Linked DNA regions of Homo sapiens: regions 1, 2, 4, 5, 6 and 7 are each linked to region 3. Evidence: promoter capture Hi-C in 16 types of primary human blood cells and fetal thymus (Javierre and others, 2016). All regions are on one chromosome and are shown on one strand. The core of a region is centred on a gene start or on the middle of the fragment in contact, and the rest is flanking DNA. Distances in the headings are between cores, read along the strand shown.

Region 1 (3,826 bases), core at 902-3,401, 2.8 Mb before region 3:
ATTCCTGTAAATTCCAATGGCCTTTTTTGCTGAAATGGATAAACATCTCTTCAAATTAGGGACTCCAAATAGCCAAAACATTATTGAAATAGAAAATCAATGTAGAAAGACTTTCACTTCCTGATTTCAAATCTTACTGTAAAGCTACAGTAATCAAAACATTGTTATACTGACATAAGGATAGACATATAGGCTCAGGGAATAGAAATAGAAGTCCAGAAATAAACCCAAACACATATAATTTTAACAAAGTTTCCAAAATCATTCTATGTTTACTGAAACTTAAAAAATATTTAAGAGTTAGCTAAGCTAAGGGACAGAACGTAAGTCAGGGCAAAATGAGCAAAGTCATGAAATTTAGAGAACTAAAAACAAACAAACAAAAAGCCACATACATTTATTTTGCCTGAAGTGTACAGTATACAGCTTATGATAGAAGAGCTGTCGTTGAATGGAAAAAGAATGAAGTAAATATTTAGGAGATAGAACCAGAAGGAAACAACTTTTATATGGTGGTTCAGAACCACGCTTAGTCTGGAAAAGTGGGTCCTTCTTATAGGCCCACATCTGAGGGCATTCCTGGTGCATCAGGGTGCTTTCTTCAAAATGTTCTAAGCCCCCTCCAGTACCTAGGAGTGGCCAAGGGTGGCAGTACTATCCTGGACCAGATCCTTGCAGTATGATCTTTGACCCTTGCATTAGTCAGGGTTTTCTAGATAAAAAGAACTAATAGGATACATATAGATATGTAAGAGATTTATTATGGAAATGTGCTCATATGATTATAGAGGCAAAGAAGTTCCACAATATGCTCTCTGCAAGCTAGAAAGCCAGGAAAGCTGATGATATAATTCAGTCCAAGTCTGAAGGTCTGAAAATCAAGGGAGTTGATGGTATAACTTCTGGCTGGAAACTGAAGGATAAAGCCTGAGAATCAGGAAGCCATTGGTGTAAGTTTCAGAGTCCAAAGGCCCAAGAAGCAGCAACATTGAATCTGAAGGCAGGTTGTCTGAGGGCAGGAATCCTAGCTCAAGAAGACAAAATTCACCTTTCTACCACCTTTCTGTTCTATTTGGACACTCAAAAGATTGCATGATGCCTGTCAACATTGGTAAGGGTGGATCTTCTTTACTTAGTCTACTAATTCAAATGCTAATCTCTTAAGGAAGGACGCACCCTCATAGACCCACCCAGAAATAATGTTGTACTAGCTATCTGAACATCCTTTCGCCTAGTGAAGCTTACACATAAAATTAACCATCAGAACCCTCTACATTGGGTATGTCTTAAGGAGCTTAGTAATTGTAGTCTGGCCCCAGTTCCTCCTATCCAGAGTAGGATATATATAATTAAATATAATTAGATATAATTAAATTATATTTATTTGTTTTATTTGGATTATACAAGATTATGCAGCCAGAAAGTTACTGTCATACTGATTCCGTGTGACAGTCACTCATGGGCATGGCAAGTTCAGGGCTCTAGCCTACCATTGGTCCAATGCCAACACTTGGACTTGAACCAAGTATGTGAGAGTTATATATTGGCTCTTGTCCATCTTGGTGTCTGTTCCAATTATAGGGCTGTCTCTTTTGTTTACCACCAGAACATGGCAGGGGTAGCAGCAGTAGTTTTTACCTTGCGGCATCCACTGTTGCTCCTCTTGCTAGCAACCCCGCTGCTTACTCCAAACTCCTTCTATGTACAGCATGTCAGGCAGTTCTCCAGGGACAGTTGCATATATCTTCTCCAGGGGCTTTTAAGACTATAACTCCATAATCCTAATGGCCCTTCTGATAGTTGTTCTCTTTTGCCTCCAATTTATGTGGTGGCCTTATGTTCTCTTGGCATGATCTTCAGCCTTACAGTACATGGGATGGATCCTCCTTGTATGAACAAGACTGCTGCTCTCTCTCTACTGACGGCCCCTTACCTATCCACCCTACTCGTGGGTTGGAGTGGTAGGTATGATTTAGTGAATATTGAAAAATATCACACTCTAGGAATTTAGTGACTATGGCCTGAAGAATTTGAGACTCTTCCAATGCTACTGGAAGATGTGTTGTTCTACATTTACACTATACAAATTTCCTTTTGGTAAATTTAATATATCCATAAATCTAATTATTGCGCAAATTTCACTGTATATCGTGGGTAAAACTTACACTGGTGATCATAACCAACAAAACATATTAATAAACTGTGAGATAGCCATTGGAATAGAATGTTCATAGTTGTATGGCAGATGATTCCACATCATGAATAATGTAATAAGCATTAAATCAAGGGTATTAGGAAATTGCAGAGGCAAGACATTTATATTATTTCAATATAAACAAGATTCCAAAGAGCAATGTCATTGCTGGACCAAATAGGTCCAGGAATATGAAATATTTCCTCAATAATATGAAATCCTCATGCACTGATTGGGCAATAAACAAAGATGAAGTAGCTTTTCTCTATCTATTGTTATCAATAAATCACTATTTATCATATGTTCTATTAATTTTGTAATACATTTTTAAGTCAAACAGTTTACATGTATAGGAACTCATCCAGAAGAGAAAACCAATTGTCCTAGGTCTCTAACCTCCTAGGAATGTCCTACAGGAGACTGATAGGATTAACAGTTACATTTTGCTTTCTCTCTATGACAGCGGTTCTCAACATTTGGAATGAATAAAATTCACTGGGGCACAGGCTCACCAGGCTTCAGTTTTGCATAATATGAGATGTGAGTTTTCTGTGATACCTATAATTGGAGATATCTAGGTTGTCCTTGGATACATAAATGTGAAACAAAGATAACATCATGGTTTAGAAAGATATATTTCTAATCAAAGAGGTCATAAGAGGTCTGAAGCAAAGTCCTAGAACAATATATAAAACAGAATTACAGACTGATGTAATGGAACCTATAGTCTATGTATAATAAAGTCCGTGTATTTAGATGGTAAGCTAATCCTGGGAATATGATGGTTTTGGCGGTGATTGTCCAACTTTTTAGCTCATAGACTCATAGAGTGTTGAATGGAATTAAGACATTGTTTTATTCAAGCTTATTTGTTATCAATAAGAAATCTTGGCCCAAAGAGATGAAGTTATCTGATTGAGGTCACACAGTTTCTTGTAAAATCAAGACTAAGCTTGTTATTTCCAATCTATTACACAAAATCTAAATCAATTTTTGAATCATTGTTGAATTCAATATCAAGCAGAAATAACACAAGCAGTTTAAATTCAAAAAGCAAGTTTAGCTATAAGAGAAGTACTTAAGTAAGAGGGCAACACTAATCCACCTTCAAACTGCAAAAGTGGCTAGAGTGCAAGTAAATCCTTGAACTGTAATAATCATACAGCAGCAAGAGCAAAAGCAGATTAGCTAACCTTACTCTGAACTGAGAGGACCTCAGGACTTGATTTAAAGTTATATCTCATTCGTGTATGTCTGTGTTGTTCATGCATGTGTGTGTATGTGTTTGTGTCTGAAAATGGAGAGAACTGGGAGACTGAGGAGAATGCAGCGGAAGAGCAAATTTAGGAAATAAAAGCACATTAAAAGTGGGAAGGTCACTGTGTCTTTAAGACAGCACTTCATCTTGAAAATTAAGATTAACCTGGCGGGTATAAGGTGTTATTGTATTAATGAGAGGTTGCCTTTTTAGAGCCCTGTGGAATAACATTCCTAATTACGACCTATCTATTTACCTGACAAGATACTAGTAAGGAGTTCATGCCAATTATAAATATCACCATCTATTGACAATTCCATTAAACAGCATCCTGAAACACCTCCTGATAGGGATGGAGAAGATATATGAATTTA
Region 2 (3,926 bases), core at 408-2,907, 2.4 Mb after region 3:
TACTTAGCTACTTCTATTTTACTGATTTGTTTTATAAGTATAAAGATTTACTTATAAAATATCTTAGCACTTTAGTGTTAAGATAAGGGACTTGTAAGAGAATCCTTTTGTAATGCAAATCATCTTGTAACACCAACGAACAATATAACATACTTTTAAAATATTAAAATACATGTTTGTTCCATTGCTTTTACCCTTCCCGTGCTCCCATCCCTCAGGCAACATTCAGCCAAGAACAGAAAAATCAACAGAGCTGTTGAGTAGATTTTGTAAATTCATAGCAGATACATAGGCTGATGGAAAAATGCTTTTTTTAATCAGAAAAACATAAGGATTTTCTGATAGAAATTTTCTTATAATATCTAAAGGTGAATTTGGATATCAAGTTAGAATCTTGAAAACAAGACTATTCCGTGATTTCATCCCTTCACTCATTCATTCAAAAATAGCTATTGAGGGGAAATGTCTGAATTCAATCTGAAAACTACAGAGATTATTACATCGACAACTATGTACTAAACTATAAAATAACTTTTCCTCATGGCACATCTTGAATTGTGTGGGAGAAAATGAAAGATAGTTAATCAAGTAGAGTAGATAAAAATAATAAAACATTTCATGCTGAGTTTCTGGGATCCTATACAAAGAGTGACTGAAGGGAACTAGGTTCCTACTGCTCTTGTGTAGGGAATTCAATATATTCTTTAAAAACATCACTGTTAAAAATCCCATGTCGGCTGGGTGCAGTGGTTCACACCTGTAATCCTACCACTTTGGGAGGCTGAGGTGGGCAGATCATTTGAGGCCAGGAGTTCAAGACCAGCTTGGCCAACATGGTGAAACCCCATCTGTACTGAAAATACAAAAAATTAGCTGGGTGTGGTGGTACACACCTGTAGTCACAGCTACTCAGAAGGCTGAAGCACGAGAATCACTTGAGCCCAGAAGGCAGAGGTTGCAGTGAGCTGAGATCATGCCACTGCACTCCAGCCTGGGCCACACAGTGAGACTGTCTTTAAAAATAAAATAAAATAAAATAAAAATAAAAATAAAAATCCCACATCACGGCAGGGGACTTGAAGACAAGAAAAATACTGCATCACTCTAGGCTCTCAGAGCCCAAGTTCAAAATGGGAAATAACTGGAGTCACATACCAAGGACTTGAGAGAGCTCTGCCAGGTCCTCAAATGTATCTTTCAGTCAGCTTACATGTGCCATTGAATCTCAGGCACCCAGCAAACTTCCTAGCACTAGAACAGTACAACAGGTCCTGTTTTACTTAGAATGGAATTTTCCCCTGCCATGCCCGTATTCCTTTATCGGGTATCTCTGGTTATAAAGAACCAAACTGATGTTTTTAGCCATTGTAAGTATACAAACCCACAAAGAAATAAAACATCTATTCACTCAAAGCCCCTTCTTCTTCTTCCTTCTCTCCTAGTGTCTGTTCCATACGTAGCTAATTCTCTGGAATTATGGAGAGTAGACTTACAGTTTGCTAGGCTGATTCCCCTGTAGCCATCCATTCCCAATCTTTTCAGAGTTCTGGCCAACTCACACCTTTCAAAGACCTTGCCCTGGACCGTAACAGAAAGGAGGACAAGCCCCAGAACAATGAGAGCCTTCATGTTGACTGCTAGGTCAGAGTGCTAGGCTGACCAGGGTGAGCTGGCCCCAGTATTTAACATCTTTTAACTTCCTTCTTCCCCTTGTGGTTTGGGGGCTCCACCCTTTCAGTTGTGTGGAAAACAGGAACTGTCTATTGATCCACTGACTCTAAAGAGATTTTTTTAATGCTTGAAGAGAGATATGCTGATGTCCTAAGAATTAGTCTACAGGAAAATAATGAAATGGAATTGTTTAAAGTACTGGCTCTGGAAGAATTGGGGCATAGCACTACTTCCAAGACAGGAACTTTCTTCTGTTTGATTATGAATTTGAGCAATTATAAAGAAAAAAATGACTATTTTGTGCAGCTTAAAATGAGCTGTGATTTTTGAGTAACATTCAATTTTGTGAAATTGTTTTGTATGCATTCACTTTTTTATATTTATCTTTTTTACTTAAAATTATTTTACATATCTTTTCCACAAAATGGACATGACACATGTGCCTGTTGTCTTAATGGGTGTATAGTGTGACACCACGTTGCTCAGCTAGTTTCTTACTCTAGACTCTTTTTGTTACTATAGCAAATTTTTTATTATTATAAATCAGTGTTTTACTATTATAAATAAGGTTCATGTGAACAACTTTACCAACTACCTTTTTTTTTTTTTTTTTGAGATGGAGTCTTACTCTGTCACCAGGCTGGAGTGCAGTGGCGCAATCTCAGTTCATTGCAACCTCTGCCTCCCGGGTTCAAGCAATTCTCCTGCCTCAGCCTCCCAGGTAGCTGGGACTACAGGCATGTACCACCATGCCCAGCTAATTTTTGTATTTTTAGTAGAGACAGGGTTTCACCATGTGGCCAGGATGGTCTGGATCTCTTGACCTCGTGATCCGCCCGCCTCGGCCTTCCAAAGTGCTGGGATTACAGGTGTGAGCCACCACATCCGGCCTACTTTACCAACTACTTTTCACAATACTTTGCCTCCCCTTTCCATATTAGAACATAAGGGGTCATTAGAAAGCAACAGCATTTTAAAAATAAAACCTACCCAAACATATATCCAACTAAATGCTACCTTTGAAAATAGCAATCTCAGGAGGCTGTGCACAGCTTTTAAAACAATGCTACCAGAACTCAAAAAGAACTGCACTTCTGTATCTGCCTAAGAGGACAGATTCTGAGCCACACAAAGTGTCATCACTTTGTAGTTACCCTTATTTTTCATCAGTGGCCTCTAAAGATTACCAGATTTGGTTTTAAATGACAGTTCAAGGACCCTGTTCAAAAATCAAGAATAATCTCATTTTTCAGGCTAGGCCTAATTTTGATTCTTCAATAATAAATAGGGCCAGGTGCAGTGGCTCATGCCTGTAATCCCAGCACTTTGGGAGGCTGAGGTGGGTGGATCACCTGAGGTCAGGCGTTCAAGACCAGCCTGGCCAACATGGTGAAACTCCGTCTCTACTAAAAATACAAAATTAGCTGGGCGTGGTGGTGCGCCTATAATTCCAGCTACTTGGGAGGCTGAGGCAGGAGAATTACTTGAACCCGGGAGGCGGAGGTTGTGGTGAACTGAGATCACACCACTGCACTCCAGCCTGGGCAACAGAGTGAGACTCTGTCTCAAAAAAAAAAAAAAAAAAAAGAAAGAAAAAAAAAATGGCCAGCTGCGGTGGCTCATGCCTGTAATCCCAGCACTTTGAAAGCCCAAGGCAGGCTGATCACCTGAGGTCAGGAGTTCGAGACCAGCCTGGCCAGCATGGTGAAACCCCGTCTCTACGAAAAATAGAAAAATTAGTTGGGTGTGGTGGTGGGTGCCTATAATCCCAGCTACCTGGGATGCTGAGGCAGGAGAATCGCTTGAACCGAGGAGGCGGAGGTTGCAGTGAGCCGAGATTGTGCCATTGCACTCCAGCCTGGGAAAGAGAGTGAGACTCTGTCTCAAATAATAATAATAATAATAATAATAATAAATAGTGAGACAGATTTTCAGGACCCAAAGAGACAGAAACCAATTAAAAGAGTTAGTCTTGGCTGGGCGCAGTGGCTCATGCCTGTATTTCCAGCACTATGGGAGGCCGAGGCAGGAGGACTGCTTGAGACCAGGAGTTGGAGACCAGCCTGGGCAACATGGCAAAACCCTATATTTACTAAAAATAAAAAAAAATTTAAAAATGTGCTTGTAGTCCCAGCTACTCGGGAGGTTGAGGGTCAGAGGATCACCTGAACCCAGGAGGTTGAGGCTGCAGTTAGCTGAGATCGTACCACTGCACTGCAGCCTGGGCAACTAGAGTGAGACTGTGTCTCAAAAAT
Region 3 (3,741 bases), core at 910-3,409:
TGATTTAATTGCTCAAAATCTGAAGTCAGACAGGGGTTCAAATTTGAGCTTGGACACTCCTGCCCCATTGACTTGTGGTAATATTACTGCCAGCAAAATTACTCAACTAAACGTTTTTCCTCAGCTGTAGGGCTATCCACTAAACTATCCACTTCATAGGGTGTTATAAGAATTAAAGCAAGCAGACAGAAAGCAAGCAAAATAATCAGCACAGTAAGAACTCACTAAATGTTAGCTATTGTTACTACTTTACCTAAGTAAATCTCTAAACTTCCAAATGATCCTAGGTATTTGTCCAGTGAATTTTCTTGATCTAAAACACCAGGCTCTCACTAATGACACTGAACAATAACAATTCATTATTAAAATTTTGTCAGTGTTCTGGTACAAGGATTTTTTAAAAATGCAGTTTCCTGGCACTCACTTTTTCAGATATGCTTTACATACGAGTAAAATCAGAGGAGTAAAAATAGAACATGGAATCAGAGCCAGAGCGTCTTGTAAATTCTAGACTCAGTAGTTTAATAATAGCATCAAACATCCAATGTCACAACAATTAGGAGATTACGCATTCTATTAAGTAGTGTCGATGTTCTCACATACTACACATTTACTAATTAAGACCTATTGTGCAAGTTGGGGCGGTAATTAAAGGCAGACAACTTACACTGGACCAGGTCATCAGTGCTTTTTCTGTATATTTATCCTGACAACCCTATGAGCTAGATACTACTATTATGGCCATTTTAACAGAAGAAACAGGCACAGACAGGTTAAGTAACTTACCCAGTATGACACAGCTAGTTAAATGGATGGAGGTGAGACATGAACCTGGACAATCAGGCTCAAAAGTCCACTAGACTTTACTGCCTTTGACCAAATTGGTAAGTCAAATTAGTAGGATAAATTTCTCCTAATAACATCAAAACTGATTTCTCTGGGAGAGGTGGGGTGAGTACAACTCCCTCAAAGGCCTGGCTTCACTCTCAATCAATGATAACATTTTAACACCTTTCCAATGTACCTGTGGAAGAAAGCCGACCTTTTATTTTACAGGTAAAGAAACTGAGTAACAGCAGCGGCTTTTAGTCTGGGGACCAATTGTTGGCCAGTATTCACTTGATGTTTCAGCGTGGGTCAATCGACCTCGCAGAATATGAGTGACCCGCAAGTCAGACCCACGCAGGCTGCAATGAAACTGCGTAACACGCCTAGGCAAGCGGTCATTTCAAAAAACCTCCAGAGATGGCTCTTTTGCCATTCCTGTTACTCAGGACAAAATGGAACTTGCATAAACACTTAGTCATCAGTAAGCGCTGAAGTTACAAATCACCTAATTCGCAAAATCAAATACGCAGCTAAGTTCCTAATTCTGAAAGAAAGAAAAGGAGCTAACATTTGGAGACTGCAACACTGACACCTGGGACCCAGGAACTGCAGTAAATGGGAAAAAACAGCCCACGGACGGAGACCACAACGTGCGCAGCCACCACGGGGAACACTGGGGACTTTTCAGGGCCCTTCCACTTCCCTCCCAACAGCCTGTCCTCGCGTCTACAGGCTGCCCCGACCTGGTGATTCCCCAGGGCGAATTCGGAAAGGTAAACCGAAGGCGGAGATGACAGGCCTGAGATTTGCCAGCCTACATCCAGGGGACCAGGGCGGCAAAGTTTCCCCAGCCCCGGAGGGGTAGGGGCCCTGAGGCGCCCCCTCCCGCTCCCCGAGGTCCGCACCTGCAGAGTGGTGATGTGCTTGTCGTTAAACTTGTTCTCGCAGTAGCGCAGCACCAGCGACGTCTTCCCCACGCAGCCTTCCCCCAGCAGCACCACCTTGAACGAGTAGGCTCGGCCCGCCGCCGCCGCCCCGCCGCCGCCGCCGCCGGCCGCAGCCATCCCGTCGCTTCCCGGCCGCCCGAGCCCGAGTGTCGCGCCGCCCTCCCGACAGCCGCGGCAGCGCCTTCACAGCCACGGCCGGCTCAGCCCCCACCGCCCCGGCCCCGCCGACCCGGGCGCTGTCCCCACGCCCTCCTCGGGCGAGGCCTGGAAGGGCTGAGGGAAAGTCCGAGAATGAAGGGCCCCAGCCCACCACGTCAGGCACCGGAGGAAAAGCGAAGAACGATCCCTCTCTGCCTCCCTCTAATGGCGTCTCCTTCCTCCTACGTCACACCTCGGGTCACGTGAGCGCCGGTGCCGGGGCGGCCCCTGCGACTAGCCCCAGAAGAACGTGCCTGGACGTGGGCGGGGCTTCTGGGGCATCTCCCGGGGTGGAGCTGGATGTGAGTCGAGCGCCTACTGGCAATCTAGGGCAGAGCCCCGCCGCTTGCGAGCCACCTCTGCTTTTCAGTTGGTGGGAGCCAGCGGGAATAAGGAACCAGGAATTTGAGGCGAGCCCAGCTCTGGTGAAATGAAGGGCAGAACTTCATCGTTTTTGCATGTTCACAATGCTAATGATCTGTCACACCAGAGGTCACTGTAAACCATATCTGCCAAGGTGCCCTTGAATCTCTCTCTGTGGGATCCCGAATCATAGCGCTTCCAAGTTCCTCTGACCGCCTGGTCAACTACTCCATCATCTTTCAAGTCTCAGCTTAAACCGCGTCCCTGACCACCCAATCCTTCCCCCATCCTTCCATTCCCCCACCTCACAAAATTAGGTATTTCTTACCACCAGTATACCTCCTTTACTAGGGCTTTACACACTCCATGGATATTATTAATACTTTGCTAAGTGTTTATCGACTCTCATTAGACTATAGGTTTGTTGAGGGCAAGGTCTGTATAAGAGCTGCCCACCTTTGAATTCCTAACCCCAAGTGCTCTTCAGTTTTTCTGACTTTCATGAAGCCTCTGACGTTCCATGGTACTCCACCTTGAGGTGGCTTGTTCGATGATTGCTTGTTTTTTCTCATCTGCATCCCCATTCTTTTTTGTTTGTTTGTATTGTTAGTTTTGAGATGGAGTATCGCTCTGTCGCCCAGACTGGAGTGCAGTGGCGTGATCTCAGCTCACTGCAGTCTCTGCCTCCTGGTTCAAGTGATTCTCCTGCCTCAGCCTCCCGAGAAGCTGGGACCATAGGCGCCCACCACCGCGCCCCGCTACTTTTTGTATTTTTAGTGGAGACAGGGTTTCACCATGTTGGCCAGGCTGGTCTTGAACTCTGACCTCAAGTGATCCACCTGCCTCGGCCTCCCAAAGTGCTGGGATTATAGGTGTGAGCCACCACGCCCGGCCTGCCTCCAAGAAACCATACTCCTCCAAGAAATCATACTAATATTTCTGAAAATTTACTGGAAACCTGGTGTCAGGTAAACATTTTTTTAAAAATCAAACTTCTTTCACACTTCAAACCAGGTTAAAAAAAAAAAAAGAGGCCGGGCGTGGTGGCTCATGCCTGTAATCCCAGCACTTTGGGAGGCCGAGGCGGGCGGATCACAAGGTCAGGAGATCGAGACCATCCTGGCCAACATGGTGAAACCCCATCTCTACTAAAATACAAAAAATTAGCTGGGCATGGTGGCACAAGCCTATAATCCCAGCTACTCGGGAGACTGAGGCAGGGGAAGCGCTTGAACCCGGGAGGCAGAGGTGGCAGTGAGCCGAGATCGCGCCACTGCACTCTAGCCTGGCGACAGAGGAAGACTCCGTCTCAAAAAAAAAAAAAAAAAAAAAGAGAGTCGGTTAATTCATTCAACAAATATTTAAATGTGCCCACCATATGCCAGGCACTGTGATCAACAAGATA
Region 4 (3,819 bases), core at 70-2,569, 2.3 Mb after region 3:
AAAAGTTTTTAAATCACCATTTATTGTGGAAAACCCATATTTCCTACAAACCTTTCAGCAGTAAAGTTTACTACCTAAAATCTGTTCACTAAACCTACCTACATCACTTTCTCCCCTAGGAAATCCTCAGTTTATCCGAAGTAAACACTTCATGGAATAAGTTTAAACAAAACATCTCTGCCCACCTGTGTGAAACTCTGCATTGCAGCAACAATTTTAACAGTGTAAGGAATCTCTCAAGAAAATCCAAGAACAATTTTTCCTTAAGAAAAATGACAGTTCCAAATATGAAGGTAAACAAACTTTGGGAGAAAGGATATAACTGTCCAACTCTTTAAAATCAATTCGTACAGCCTCTGAATGAACTCATCATACAACTGTGACATCAGATAGCCAAAAGAATTAAGAGTGTAGATTAGAGAAAAGCATCTTTTTTTTTTTAGTATGTCTGCAAAAAAAGGCGGGGGAGGGGGTGTCTAAACTACTGATTTTCCTTAAGCAAGTTTTTTCTTTAAGTTTACTTCAACAACAGCTTCAGCAAGCTTTCAAGTGAGTAAAGATGATACAGAGCATGCTGGTGCCACAGCGACCTACGTATCCAGGACCGGTTCCGAGCCCAGTCCAAATCGATCCCGGACAACCCTGAAGCAAATCTGGATGAAAAGCCCTGCAAAAGATCCCTGGCATGTACAGGCAGCGCCCCACCCTGGAGGGAAAAGACGACACCCCTGGGACCCGGGTTAATTACTGACCCCAGGACAGACCCAGAGGAGGCGAAAAGTCGGGAACTGGAGCCCAAGATTGAGTCTGGTGTCCAGCTACTACCCCAGGCCGGACACAGAATACCAAACTAGGGAGCGGCGAGGTTTGGGGCAGCACACATGAGGGGGGTCGGACGGACGAACAGAGGCCCAGCCCATCCCCACTCTCGAGTCCCAACAGCAACAACAGCTCTGGGAACCCCCTCCCTGGCTCCGCCCCGCCCACCCCATGGACCCACAGCCAGCTCTTCCCGTCCCGCTGGCCCGGAGAAGTCCGCGGCGGTCGACAATCCCCTTCCCCGGACGCCGGCAGCCGAGCCCTCAGCCCGGATCCCGAAGCGGGCAGCGGGGGCACGAGAACGCCAGCTCCGACGCGGGCCCGCGGCCGTCCCAGTCCGTTTCCCTAGCCACTCACCGTCCGCCCAGGTGCTGAGAGGGAGCAGGGCGCGGGTCGGCGGGCGCGAACCCCCAGACTCCGACCCGCGCTGGAGCCCCTACTTGGAGCAGATCGAGTCTCAGCCGCTGTGCCTACAAGGCCTCTCTCCGGCCCGAATCTTGGAAAAGCACTTCCGGGGGAGCGGGGGAGGGAAGGGTTTTGGCACCGGAACTGCTCTCAGCCCGGAGCTGCCAGGGCCTCCAGGGCGGGGCGGGGCCTCTCTCGCCGGGCGCCCACAGATCAGCCTCTGGGCTCCTAACTAACCCTTTCCGCCCCGCGCCTCCTCGATTCCCCGGCTACTGCTGCACCCTTTGCTTTAACTGCTGTTTGAGTTGTTTTACTCCAGCCAGCTAATTTTACAAATAAGGAAACCGAGGCTCGGAGAATTAGGTGCAAGAATCCAGTGCCTACACCCGGCCTCCCGACTCCCTTCAGTGTACTCTACGCTCCAATCTGCCTCCTTTAAAAAATAATGATAATAGTTAACATTTATTGAACGCTTACTACGTGGTAGGCACTGTATTAAGTCCCTTCGGGTGCATTAACTTATTTAATCATCCCCAAACTCCTTGGGGTTGGTGCTATTATCTACGTCTTGCAGGGGAGAAAAACGGTCAAAGATACCAAACCCAATCTCACAAATGTTGGTTGATTTTAATTCACGTGTGTATAAATCTCATCTACCTATACCAAGATTTTGAAATTATTTAAAAACAGGGCTCAAACTATATTCCTATATTCTGTCATCACTGGTGACTTCAACAGAGGCGAGAGCTGGGGTTGGGGGGTTGGGGGGGTTGGGGTGGGGATCTGGAATCTTTTTGCTTGTCTCCTTTTATTTACTTTTATTTTTTCACCCTGGCAAGTTATAAAATCATCTCTGCATTGTAGGAATCCAAAATGATAATGCATGATAAACATTTCAGAATGTCTGGCATTGGATAAAAGTTAACGATTCTTATACCTCATCAGCAATAGGCAATAGAAAAGATTAGTTAAGGAAATAAGAAAGAGTAGGGGTTGGCCGGGCGCGGTGGCTCACGCCTGTAATCCCAGCACTTTGGGAGGCCGAGGCGGGTGGATCATGAGGTCAGGAGATCGAGACCATCCTGGCTAACAAGGTGAAACCCCGTCTCTACTAAAAATACAAAAAATTAGCCGGGCGCGGTGGCGGGCGCCTGTAGTCCCAGCTACTCGGGAGGCTGAGGCAGGAGAATGGCGTGAACCCGGGAAGCGGAGCTTGCAGTGAGCCGAGATTGCGCCACTGCAGTCCGCAGTCCGGCCTGGGCGACAGAGCGAGACTCCGTCTCAAAAAAAAAAAAAAAAAAAAAAAGAAAGAGTAGGGGTTTTTACAACTGGAAAAATACAGGTGCTTGTGAAGCTCCATGCAGTGATAATATGAGGACCCACAGAGTTACATACCAGACAGGGAAAAGGGATGGAAAGGAGGAGGGCGTGGGATTCCTCAGCCACAAAATCAGAAAGGCACCAGATATCTGAGGCAGATTCTGTATCTGGGATGCAGGGAAAGAAAAAAAAGCCTCTTAGCAATGCATACTATCTGCAAAACAAATGTACTAACATCTCTTGAAACTGGGGGGGGGGGGGGTGGCGGGGAAGATTTTTAAATGTTTCTACTATGAAAGGCAGGGGAAAGGAAAAAAGTTGAAAACCCATTATTACAAATTTAAGATGCAAACAATGCCACTGCTCTTGGCTTTATTTACAGGGCTTTCTTACTTTATTTTTGTGATCGCAGAAGTGTTGGCAAATACTTCCGTAATACTCAAATTCAAGCAGCCTTTTGTGCCTCAGAGTGTGAAGAAGTAAAAAACAGCGTGGGTTGGCAGGACTCACCGACATCTCTTTTTACTCAAGGCCTAAAGGGATAGTGAGAGGAATCCTGAATCACAGATATTATCAGGCTCTGTGTGGGATGCAGAGGTGCTAGAGGTTAGTCATTTAATCTGGTCATCTAACTGGTAAATGGAGCCGCCTGGGTTTGAATTTGCAGACCATATTCTCAGATGCTTTTCACCACTATCCCAGTGGTTCTCAAATTTGAGAGTGCATCAGAACCACCTAAAGGGCTTGTTAAAACAGATTGCTGGGCCCCACCCCTAGAAGTCCCTGGACTAAGCCTCTCAACATCATCTGTGAACTTGTTACAGATGCACATTACTGGGTCCCGCCCCAGATCTTATGAATCAGAAGCTCTGGGGTGGGACCCAGCAATCTGTGTTTTAACAGGCCCTCCAGGAGATTCTGATATACTGTCAAGTTTAAGAACCACTGCATAAGATATTAAGAACTAATATCTTGTCTTCCACATATTCCTCTTTTTTTCTAATTTTTTCCAACAGGGATAACTCTTACCGGAGCAAAAGTTCTTGCCGTTGAATTAAATGACCTATTGAAGGATTTTTATTCATGTTTTGCTCTCAGTGAAAGAAGATGAGGCTAGAAAAAAAATTACTATAATGGAGGATTCATTTTGATTACTTTAAATTTGTACTGAAATGTAACCAGATAATACTGGGTTGGGGGTGGAACTAATATTATTTGGGAATTACTCTATGCCAAGGCTTTACACGCGTTTTCTAAATTAATCTTCACTACATT
Region 5 (3,390 bases), core at 587-3,086, 2.0 Mb after region 3:
GACGAATTTAGAAATATGGGCAGTGAGAGGAGACTGGTAGCAATCATTAAATCCATTATCTATAGAAGTAAGTCTAAAATAACGTTGAGAATTATGGTCATAGAACAGAGAGTAACCGTTGTAAGTCTTGACAATATCACAATGAAACAACCAACAAAAGCTGAAAGAGAAAAGAAATAAGGTAAACATAACAAAAATAATATAATTAGAGGGTAAAGAGGTGAGGAACAGGAAATACACTGTTCAATGCTTTCAATAATATATAAAAAGTAGTTTCAAAGTTATTAAGATGACCACTGGAACAAAAATGCAAACCTTTCAAGTTCAAAACACATGCATACACAAAGAATATATATACAGGCCATATAGTGAAAAATAAATGAGCACTACAAACAAAACCTAACAAAAAAACAAAAGATAGGTAAAGTAAGATAAAAGATGACATGACCTTCTTTTCAATGAGCACTGAAAATTTTCAATTAATTTTCTCAACTGGGATATCAGGGCAAATCTCAACCTTGTGCTATATACATAAGATACAGTGAAAACAAAATGATTTAGAAAGGTGGAAAATAAAAAGATAGGTGAAGGCATACCAAGCAAATTAAAACCAAGATCAAGATTTTATCTCCAAGTTAAATTCAAGAAAAAAGTATTAAATAAGACAAAGATAGGCACTTTATAAAACATGAGATGCAAAATTAAGATTTCATGCTTATGAATATCAATGTACCAAATAACATAAAATTGAAATTTATAAAGGAAAACTACATCAAATTCAAAGAGAAATCCACAGAAAACATGACTAGTTAATTTATCTCATCCAGAACAGATCAAGTTGTCAAAAATTAAGTAGGATATAGAAGGCCTAAATAACATAATTAGCAAGGTAGATTGTATATGTACATTTATATATTTATAAGTTTATATAAATATGTGAGCGAGAATAATACATTTTCTTTTCATGTACCATAGACTAGTCACAAACATTGATTAAGTATCTAAAGGTGCTTCAGATAGGCCTAAAAATTTTGTCTCTAATGGACAAGGGAAATGCTCCTTTATTCTCAGCCCCCTTTATTATTTTTTATTTTTTAAATTCAGCTCTTTTTTTTAAATTTAAATGAGCACAAATGAAGAAAAAGAGTGAAATAAGATTGTACACACTCATTTCCAATTTTAACAATTATCAATGAAGTACCAATCTGCTTCATCTATATCTCCAACAACTTCTTGCCATCCTGCATTATTTTATATTTAGTTTCTTTATTAACTTTATTAAGGTATAATTTACATACCATAAAATTCACTCATTATAAGTATATGAATCAATAATTGTTAGCAAATGTTTAGAGTTGTGCAACCACACTACATTCCAGTTTAAGAACATTTCCATTATCCCCAAAAGATCCTTCATGTCCATTTGCAATAATTTTACTCTTAACCCAGTTCTAGGCAACCACTGATCTGTTTTCTGTCTATATATTTGTCTTTTCTCTCAACTCCTTTTAACTACAGCTAGCTTCTCTTTTGTTTCATTTGCATATTGAACTTCCAGCTTGGAAAAAAAAAAGTTTGAAAACCATTATGACACACACTTACTTAAGAAACAATGTAAAAATATTTTTTATTTTAAATTTAAGATGTACATCCCATGTGCAAAATATATGGAATGGAATGCTCCAAAGCAGCAGTATCCAGTATGTGATCTAACTGATCCTGGTTAGGTAGAACACAGAAGCTTTGCAAAGACTATCTCAAAAAGGAATTTGAGAAGTTTGGTCTAAACATGGATGTTTATTGTATGTGGGGTATCTACAGTGAAAGAGGAGAGAAATGCTTTAATACTAATTTAAGCGTTAAAGTGGTCTGATGCTCCTTGCATCATTCATCGGGTGTGTTTTTCATTTGAGCTTTGCAAGAAAGCTTTTCCTGGTCTAAGAATAGAAATTATCATGGTTGTCAACATTCTTCATGCCTGTACTCCTAACCGTCATCAGTTTGGGCAAAGACAAAACAGCGTATGCAGTCTGGGTTTATTTGAATGCAGTCAGAAGTGTAGGTTATGGGTACTTGTTAAAGAGATGTTTTGAGGTCAAGAACTTTGGGGAATTAAAGAGCTCTCACTGGCCCAACTTATTCAACATTCAGGGGCCCAAGAGATTGTGCTTTCTTGTTCTGATGAAACATCTGAATATACTGAACTTGAAATCACAGGGGAAAGGAAGGGCTTTTGTTTCAGAAAGTAAAAATCTCAGGCATAAACCAGGCATATGAGTTGAGCTCAGGTCAACCGCCTTGAGCTTAATGGAATTACAGATTTTGAGGAGTTGCTGTACTATTTTGGTAGAAATAAAGTCCGAATTTTAGAAGACATATTCTGATGAACATGAATCATACTTTAAGTTTCTGCAGCTGCTTTTGGTGTGCAAACCCCAAGATGTGTTTGAATTACCAAGTGTCTCCCCTATCTGTGCAGCTTGATTGCAAGAGGAATTTAATTTCACAGACCTGAAAGGGAAACATGCTATCAAAAAAGACAAAATTTAATTAGAATTTGAGTAGTGGTATATGAATCACAAAATTATCCTAAATTTTATTCTTCCATGAAACTACTGAAATCCAGACTGATAGCAATCATACTATCAGAAACAAAAATTTGGAGTAGAAATTCAGCTATATGCTACCTGAATACAGTCTAGACGGTTCAAGAATTGTTTAGTCACATGTATAACTGGATTATCATTGACATAATCAAAATTAATTAACAAGTTTCTGAATCAGGTAAGTAAGTATCTTTCAGGACCAAAAATACTCTGACATCATCCCTGTGTGAAATTATTCTTGCCAGACAAGCAGGCACTTTTGGCCACAAGAAATGGGCATCTGTCCCCAATTCAATGCTAGCAATGCCAACTTAGGGCCCAGATGATTCAGGTAATTGTAGAACCTGACCTTGAGGCAAAGAGTTGGAAACAGTGTTAGAAATACCTGAATATTGCTTAGCCTGATATTTTATAAGAAGTAAATGAACAGCACATACTCCTAATTGGTCTGTCTCTTGGGGTCCTGAAATTTCCAGCGTATTGCAATTATGAGGCTTTTTTTTTTTTTTTTTTTTTTTTTTGAGATGGAGTCTCGCTCTGTCACCCAGGCTGGAGTGCAGTAGTGCAATCTCAGCTCACTGCAACCTCTGCCTCCTAGGTTCAAGCAATTCTCATGCCTCAGCCTCCTGAGTAGCTGGGATTACAGACACCTGCCACCACGCCCAGCTAATATTTTGTATTTTTAGTAGAGACCGGGTTTCACCATGTTGGACTAGGCTGGTCTCAAACTCCTGACCTCAGGTCATCTGCCCACCTCAGCCTCCCAAAGTGCTAGGATTACAGA
Region 6 (3,795 bases), core at 1,249-3,748, 2.5 Mb after region 3:
AGCCTGGCCAACATGTGAAACCTCGTCTCTTACTAAAAATACAATAATTAGGCAGGCATGGTGGTGAGTGCCTGTAATCCCAGCTGAGGCAGGAGAACTGCTTGAACCCAGGAGGCAGAGGTTGCGGTGAGCCAAGATCGCGCCACTGCACTTCAGCCTGGGTGACAAAGCGAGACTCCATCTCAAAACAAAACAAAACAAAAAAAAGAAGTAAGTTTACAGTATAAGGATATAAAGAAAATATTTTATATAGTTACACAATGTGTTTGTATTTTAAACTGTTATTATTGAAGAGTCCAAATTTATAAAGTAAAAACGGGCCAGTCACAGTGGCTCACGCCTGTAATCCCAACACTGGTAGGTCAAAGCAAGAAGACAGCTTGAGCCCAGGAGCTGGAGACTAGCTGGGACCTCATCCCTACAAAAAAAATTTGAAATTAGCCAGGCATGGTGGCACATGCCTGTAGTCTCAGCTGCTCTGGAGACTAAGACAGGAGGACTGCTTGAGCCTGGGAGATAAAGGCTGCAGTGAGCCACAACTGCACCACCGCACTCCAGACTGGATGACAGTGAGAAAATAATCAATCAAGTGAAAACATTACAGTAAGCTCATGTATTATTGAAGAAAAAAGTTTAAATAAATTTAGTGTAGCCTGAGTGTACTGTACAGTGTTTATGAAGTCTACAGCAGCATGTCCCAGATCTTCACATTCACCCACCACTCACTTGCTGACTCTCCCAGAGCAACTTCCAATCATGCAGGTTCCTTTCATGAGTGCCCTACACAAGTGTGCCACTTTTTATCTTTTATATCAAGATTTTCACTTACCTTTTCTGTTTAGATATATTAGATACACAAATACCACTGTGTTACAACTGCCTACAGTATTCAGTACAGTAATATGTTGTACAAGTTTGTAGCCTAGGAGCAACAGGCTACACCATATAGCCTACATGTGTAGTAGGCTGTACCTTCCAGGTTTGAAATGCAAAAGCACTCTATGATCACAAATGACAAAAGCACCTAAGATGGACTTCTCAGAACATACCGCCATCGTGAAGCGACACATGATTGTAGAACAGTTTACTGTCATAAAAGTTAGCTAAATATAGTATCTCTCAAACTACCTTATTGTATGTAATATTTTCAGACCTCAGAACCACGGGTAACTGAAACCACAGAAAGTGGAACTGTGGATACGTGTGCACTACTGTATGTAGGTATCTCTCAGCTCCCCTACAGTGTACTCTAAGGGTAGAGACTACCTAAACTTTGTATCCCTCGTTGTTGGCACATAACAGACACTCAACAAATGTATTTTGAACAATTCAATCTTTTTTTTTTGAGACAGGGTCTTGCTGGAGTGCAGTGGCCCGATCTTGGCTCACTGCAACCTCTGCCTCCCAGGTTCAAGCGATTCTCCTGCTTAGCTTACTGATTAGCTGGGATTACAGGCAGGCACCACCATACTCGGCCAATTTTTGTATTTTGATAGAGATGGGGTTTCACCATGTTGGCCAGGCTGGTCTGCAACTCCTGACCTCAAGCGATCTGCCCACCTTGGCCTCCCAAAGTGCTGGGATTACAGGCATGAGCCACCACACTCGCGCTAAACAATTCAACTTTTAAATTATTTAGTTTTGGCCAGAATTTTAAAATCTACAATTACTAAATATTGGGCTAGTAATTACTACACTTGAGTATAAATGCAGTTTAAACTGAATTGATATGCTACTGTGAGACAGAATCACTTTCTTCTCAACTTCAAGTAATAGAGAGGTTTGGAAGATGTTCAAATTCCCCTTCCAGCTGTTCTCAGCTTGGTGACATCCAAAGACCTCTAAGAACTAAAGAGAACCCATAAGGAGTAGCCAGTCCCTTGTGCCTCCTCCCCCCTTCATTCTCCATTCTTAAGTTCACCTGGTGAAGAAAGGCACTCTATTAGAGCTTCACTAATTTATTATTCTCAATCTATCCCCAAATTAGTTTCTGCTAAGACTGTTGAATGCCTCACTTTTTTCTACTTCAATAGATGCAAATCACTTTTTGAAATAATACTGTGCCTTACCAAAATACAAAAAAGCTTCATAAAAGTATGACATTTAAAATAGAAGACTCAGCAGGATACAGACAAAAAATAGTAGAAAATGGAAATAAAGACTATCCCGAATTTCAAAGTATACAAATCCAATGAGAACTGCAGTTTACACTGGAAAACAAAGATTTTTTTTTTAATGTTTACAACAGCTTTGAAGCCAAAGTAAGTCAAAACTGGCTACTATTTAGTATTTTACTCAACGACAATAAAACAAGAGTTCTAGTCTACTATAGCAACTAGTAGAAATAAGGTCGCCAGCTAGTAAAGATTAAATCAGTTGTAAATTATTTTGTGGTTGCCTCTAATTCTGGTAAGATTTTGGAAAAATATTTCAATGACAGTAACATATTTTTAAAAACAAGATAAGCTCTGAAAATAACCAACTATCCTTTTGTGACCTTTTTTTTTTTTTTGGTACAGAAACTACCACAGCAAGAAGCGGTAATGTAAAAGGATATACAAATCAATCAATCATTGATTGGCCAATGATATGCAAAGTAGCAAAAACAATGCCTCTATTTATCCTCGCCATTAATCTATTCAAACATATAAAGATTTTACTGGTAAAATTATACAACTGTGTTAGACGTAATGCAGTAGGTACCTTATACAAATCATTGAAAACTTACATTTAAAAGGAGTTCCTCATTGGGTCCACAAAACTAATCTCTTTTTACCTCCTGCCCAGTCAGCACTTGCTACTGCACAGGGATAAGAATCCACCCAGCTATCCGGATAAGGGAGATGTCCCTCTCAAATTAAGTATGCAAAAGCCTAAAAATATTTCATTAAGAGGTACTGAAAAAAGCTTAACTTCTAAAATTGAGACCCAATTCTTCTTTTATTGTGCATAGAAAGGTGAACCAATGTATTATCTTGTAAGTAAAGCTAATAAAGGCAGTCTTGAACACTCAATCGTTGTTCCTTGCAGTTACAGCCCTCTTTTAAACGCAGTTATATTCATTTGATAAATAAAAGGAAAAAAATTTCCTAGAGGTCTTATAAGCGTTAGAACCTGTGTTGCACTCGAGGAATGTATCTGATTTGTAATGGACACAACTCAAGTATTATTATTTAAAACATAAGCACAATTTTAAAAACACAAAGATTTAAAAACTTAACCTTTGATTACAATGTATTACATTTAAACAAATCCAGTCTTTAACTGAATAGCAAACATTTAAAGCCAACTGGTATTTTTCTGTTTTCTAATATTTAAACCAGAGGCACAAAGTCATTCCTGAAAAATAAAACAGTAAAGATCTCTTGAGTTTCCTTGTTTTTTAAAAAGCCTGAGCAACTAGTCACGAATATGATGGTTAATGGAGGTGGGAAAACCACATTAGCCAGTAATATTTCATTAAACTTCTCATAGGGACCTGGGAAATACAAAAAAATAAGGCTTTTAGGAACATTGCAGTTAAGCACAATTTAATTGTTTTAAATGTGTTACTACATAAAATGCAGTAGATACGAACAGCAGGTTCAAACCTTAAACGTCACTAGCAACAAACGACATCTTTTGCAAGGATGCCCATTAACAGACATCACAGCCCCGCGTTACCTCTAAGCAACGTCGTTCAGGAAAACCTTGCATTCTCACTTTCGCTCAACCTTTCAAAAGGTAACACGGGGCCCGGGGGTGGGGGTGGGGGGATTTAACACTTTGTTTTCGAAAATAGGGTCTTATCTATAA
Region 7 (3,535 bases), core at 601-3,100, 2.2 Mb after region 3:
ATCACAGTTCATTGCAGCCTCAACCTCCCAGGCTTAATCTATCCTCCTGCCTCAGTCTCTTGAGTAGCTGGGACTACAAGCACACACCACCACGCCAGTTGATTTTTGTATTTTTTCATAGAAACAGGTTTTCACCATGTTGCCCAGGCTGGTCTCAAACTTCTGGGCTGAAGTGATCCACCCTCCACAGCCTCCCAAAGTGCTGGGATTACGGGCATGAGCCACCATGCCCAGCCCCCAAATATATCTTAAATCTCAATGAACTGACACCATCAACCATCTCAGTCACCCAAACCAGATAACTGGGGGTCATCCTTGACCCCTCCATTTCTGTCATTCCCCTTATCAATCAGAGGTGTTAATTCTTCCTCCTTTAGGCCCTCTATTACATTGGTGGCCCTGAATAAACTACACTTTTGATGTTCATGCTTTTATATGAGCCACTGTAATTCAACAAAATACAACAGAATTGACATTGTGCCAGTTCTGGGCTTAGGCCTCAAGAAAGCCTAGCAGCATCTACTTTTGTGCTCTTGGGAACCCTAAGCTGCCATGTAAGAAGACCACATGAAGAAAGACCCAAGACTTCATGGAAGAAAACTAAGGAACACAGCTGAGAGCTTTAAGTTCCAGACATAACCTAGTGGAACTGGTCCAGCCAGCCCTCAGCTGCTTGAATCATACTAGCATAGGCACAAAGCATATGAGGAAGCCAGGCCTCCAGACATCATGTGAGATGAGCCATCTCTGCTGTGCCCTGCCCATCTCGATCTATAGCAACTTGAGACATTAAATGATTGCTGCTTTAAGCCACTAACTTTTAGGGTGGTTTGTTGCACAGCAGTAAACAATCTAAACAGTCCTTTAACAATGCCTTTGAATACGGATTTATCAGATCTGGCTCCATTTCTGAAAAAGCCTCTCAACCAGTCTCCCTGCTTTATTAAAATACCGTAGGGCCAGCTACTTGGGAGGCAGAGCCAGGAGAATGGCATGAACCTGGGAGGGGGAGCTTGCAGTGAGCCGAGATGGCGCCACTGCACTCCATCCAGCCTGGGCAACAGGGAGAGACTCCGTCTCAAAAAAAAAAAAAAAAAAAAAAAAAAAAATACTGCGCCCTTCACGTATCCATGTTGTCAGAGAAATCTTTCTAAACTATTATTTTTCTGGTGTTTAAAATCCTTCAAGTTCTCTCACCTAATTTAAACAAAAGCTCCTTAGGATTCTGTGATCTGTTTCTCATTTCTCCTTTCTTCTGTATCCCCCAACCCTGCCTTTGCTCTCCATGCGCTTAGTCATTTGGAACCTCTTGCAACCACTGAATGTCATGATCTTTCTATACCTCTGTGCCTTTGCACATGCTATCCCTTCTCCCTAAGACATCCTCTCTAAGCTACAAAGACTTTCAACAAACCACCTCAGGGATCACCCCCTCTAAGAAGCTTTGCTTGAAAACCTCCACCCCTAGGCTGAGTTGGATGCCCTTCCTTTGTGTGTGTCTTTATCATGCCAGTTACATCAATCACTTGTGGACATGTCCATCTCCTTCATTGTTTAAATAATTTCCATCTTGACCTGTACTCAACTAAGGCTTTGCAATGTCACTCAGTGGCTAAAAACAGGTTTGAAGTCCCAGAGCTGAGAACTACTATTTGGAATGATCACACAGCTAAAACTGTGAGAAAGCCTGTCATATAGTTACAATTTCATTTTGATATCTTCATTTTGAAAATGGAGGCAGTGATATGAGACTAGGAAAGAAAATGTCACAAAGTTTCAAGTAGTATGTGAAATATAAATACAATAAAACTTTTAAGTAGATATCCGACCAAACGTTTTATTGGGGTTTTATTGCAATCTACTTTCAGCAATAAGGGGAAAGTGAGCATGAAAAGAACTCCAATCAGACTTTATTCAATAAAGCAGCTTTTCATGAATGCTTCAGGTCAGTGTATGATCAGCTCAGCTTCCAGTATCAACTTGAGTACCTCATTATGGATATTTATGCTAGAATGACAACAGTAAGGCATTGCAAAATCCAAAGTCATCTAATATTAAACCATATTTTACATAATTTGTAGGACAGTATACTAATACTCTACAATAAATAAGGATTTAAAAATGTGTTGCTTAGCCCTTGAACTAAATTCAATTACTAGCTTATTCTAAGTACTCCAGTTAATAAACGTTTGATTGTAAAGAACTCTGACTTCTCCAAAGATAAAAAAAATTAGTTGTCATGACAAAAATTAAGCTTAAAAAGCACATTCACACTTGTCCTTAAAAGCAAGTTTACATCATATATGAGAAAACTTTTCATGCCTGATGACATGGCTTATATGGCAAAAAACAGTCATATGCAAAGGACAACTAGAGGGCAATCGTCCCATCCCCACTTCCTCCAAAAAGCCACACTCGGCCTCAGTGTAAAAGTTATATTTTATTGCCATGCTACAAAATGTATGAAGTTGGCACTGATAGGGAGAAATAGAGAACAAAGGGTGGGAAGGGATAGAGGGAAAATTATGTTGTTACATATACAACAAGGTTTTATTTTAATTAACAGTGGTTACGTTTTGCCAATATTAAAAATGCAAACCAAAATTTAAAATGCTGATCTGAAACAGCATTAAGATACAATGTATGCATAGTACAGTATCACTTATGTCTTTTTATTAGAGAAATATGGAATGTTTATAAAAGAAATTAACCATGGGGGTAAAATTCATATTTCATATACAATTTGGCAATGGTAGTCCCACTGTTGGACAATTTTTTATAAAAGAAAAAATTAAAAATCTAATAAGCTACCTTTATACAAAGTTGCTATATTTATGCCTTTACGTAGGAAAAAAACATTTATAATGCAAATTAGGACATACAATAGTCTTACAATATTATACAATGTAATGAAAATAAAACATAACACAAAGTTTGTCCTTTATAAAATGTATATTTTGCATTACTAATGCAAATGTGGCACACTGGTGACTACTGTACTACTTATACCAGTCTGTTTCCATGCTATAACTGTCCAATTGCCATAGAACTGCAATTATAATGATGCTACAAAAGAACTGTGTTATACCAAAAATGAGGAAGTAGGGATGGGGAACAGGGATGTAAAGAACAGGAAAGATAGATAGGGTGCTGGTTTGGGCAGAGTATACTGTGGTACGTCATAAAATATGTTAATTTTTCAAGCCAAAAACATTTTCTTTACATTCTGTAATTTCGTACCAATGCCTTTATTCAAATTTGGCAAACATCAAGGAAAAGGTAATTAGTACCATATACCTCACACATCAGAAATATGAATGAGATGCCAATACATCAGTTACTTGTGAATGATGTCTCTGATGGTATGTCTATTTCAAGAATATATGTATTTATACACACACACTACACATTGCACAAAACATTTGGGCATTATAGGTTAGGAATAGCACGGGGGAATTGGGAAGTACTTTTTCATCTGTTAAAACCTTTACCTTGAGGCAAAAATATGGCGGCACATTGTTGGGAAATTATGAAA

What was found. Contacts are between HindIII fragments. The CHiCAGO score rates a contact against its expected background, and 5 or more counts as called.
Region 1: a fragment that was not itself captured here is called in contact with the fragment with the promoter of RAB21 in region 3 in 1 of 17 cell types (total CD8 T cells); the score reaches 5.2 in total CD8 T cells.
Region 2: a contact is called between the fragment with the promoter of LYZ here and the fragment with the promoter of RAB21 in region 3, in 2 of 17 cell types (neutrophils and monocytes). The highest score is 9.9, in neutrophils.
Region 4: a contact is called between the fragment with the promoter of FRS2 here and the fragment with the promoter of RAB21 in region 3, in 4 of 17 cell types (non-activated CD4 T cells, total CD8 T cells, activated CD4 T cells and 1 more). The highest score is 6.6, in non-activated CD4 T cells.
Region 5: a contact is called between a fragment that was not itself captured here and the fragment with the promoter of RAB21 in region 3, in 1 of 17 cell types (total CD4 T cells). The highest score is 5.1, in total CD4 T cells.
Region 6: a contact is called between a fragment that was not itself captured here and the fragment with the promoter of RAB21 in region 3, in 1 of 17 cell types (total CD4 T cells). The highest score is 5.4, in total CD4 T cells.
Region 7: a contact is called between a fragment that was not itself captured here and the fragment with the promoter of RAB21 in region 3, in 1 of 17 cell types (non-activated CD4 T cells). The highest score is 7.7, in non-activated CD4 T cells.

Annotation. Positions count from the first base shown.
Region 1 is chr12:74,549,209-74,553,034 of GRCh38, reverse strand. No RefSeq gene overlaps it. Among named protein-coding and RNA genes, the nearest start is that of ATXN7L3B, 13 kb to the right of the region's middle. The HindIII fragment of the contact is 1,818 bases long and covers 1,243-3,060 here.
Region 2 is chr12:69,346,112-69,350,037 of GRCh38, reverse strand. It overlaps LYZ (lysozyme), which reads right to left and starts at 1,657. Exons shown (of 4, transcript NM_000239.3): 1 at 1,494-1,657. The coding sequence starts at 1,629. The HindIII fragment of the contact is 11,988 bases long and covers 1-3,926 here.
Region 3 is chr12:71,753,281-71,757,021 of GRCh38, reverse strand. RAB21 (RAB21, member RAS oncogene family) reads right to left here and starts at 2,159. Exons shown (of 7, transcript NM_014999.4): 1 at 1,734-2,159. The coding sequence starts at 1,892. RefSeq lists enhancers at 1,268-1,457, 2,098-2,387 and a silencer at 1,838-2,117. The HindIII fragment of the contact is 5,965 bases long and covers 1-3,741 here.
Region 4 is chr12:69,467,888-69,471,706 of GRCh38, reverse strand. FRS2 (fibroblast growth factor receptor substrate 2) reads right to left here and starts at 1,319. Exons shown (of 9, transcript NM_001278356.2): 1 at 1,177-1,319. RefSeq lists enhancers at 926-975, 1,147-1,648. The HindIII fragment of the contact is 4,260 bases long and covers 545-3,819 here.
Region 5 is chr12:69,725,723-69,729,112 of GRCh38, reverse strand. The region is part of intron 2 of LOC101928002 (a long non-coding RNA gene); the gene reads left to right. Among named protein-coding and RNA genes, the nearest start is that of RAB3IP, 11 kb to the left of the region's middle. The HindIII fragment of the contact is 185 bases long and covers 1,744-1,928 here.
Region 6 is chr12:69,240,643-69,244,437 of GRCh38, reverse strand. All of the region lies in intron 1 of CPSF6 (cleavage and polyadenylation specific factor 6), which reads right to left. Among named protein-coding and RNA genes, the nearest start is that of CPSF6, 3.0 kb to the right of the region's middle. RefSeq lists enhancers at 355-649, 3,553-3,795. The HindIII fragment of the contact is 823 bases long and covers 2,087-2,909 here.
Region 7 is chr12:69,578,069-69,581,603 of GRCh38, reverse strand. FRS2 (fibroblast growth factor receptor substrate 2) reads right to left here. Exons shown (of 9, transcript NM_001278356.2): 9 at 1,811-3,535. Among named protein-coding and RNA genes, the nearest start is that of MIR3913-2, 4.9 kb to the left of the region's middle. The HindIII fragment of the contact is 812 bases long and covers 1,445-2,256 here.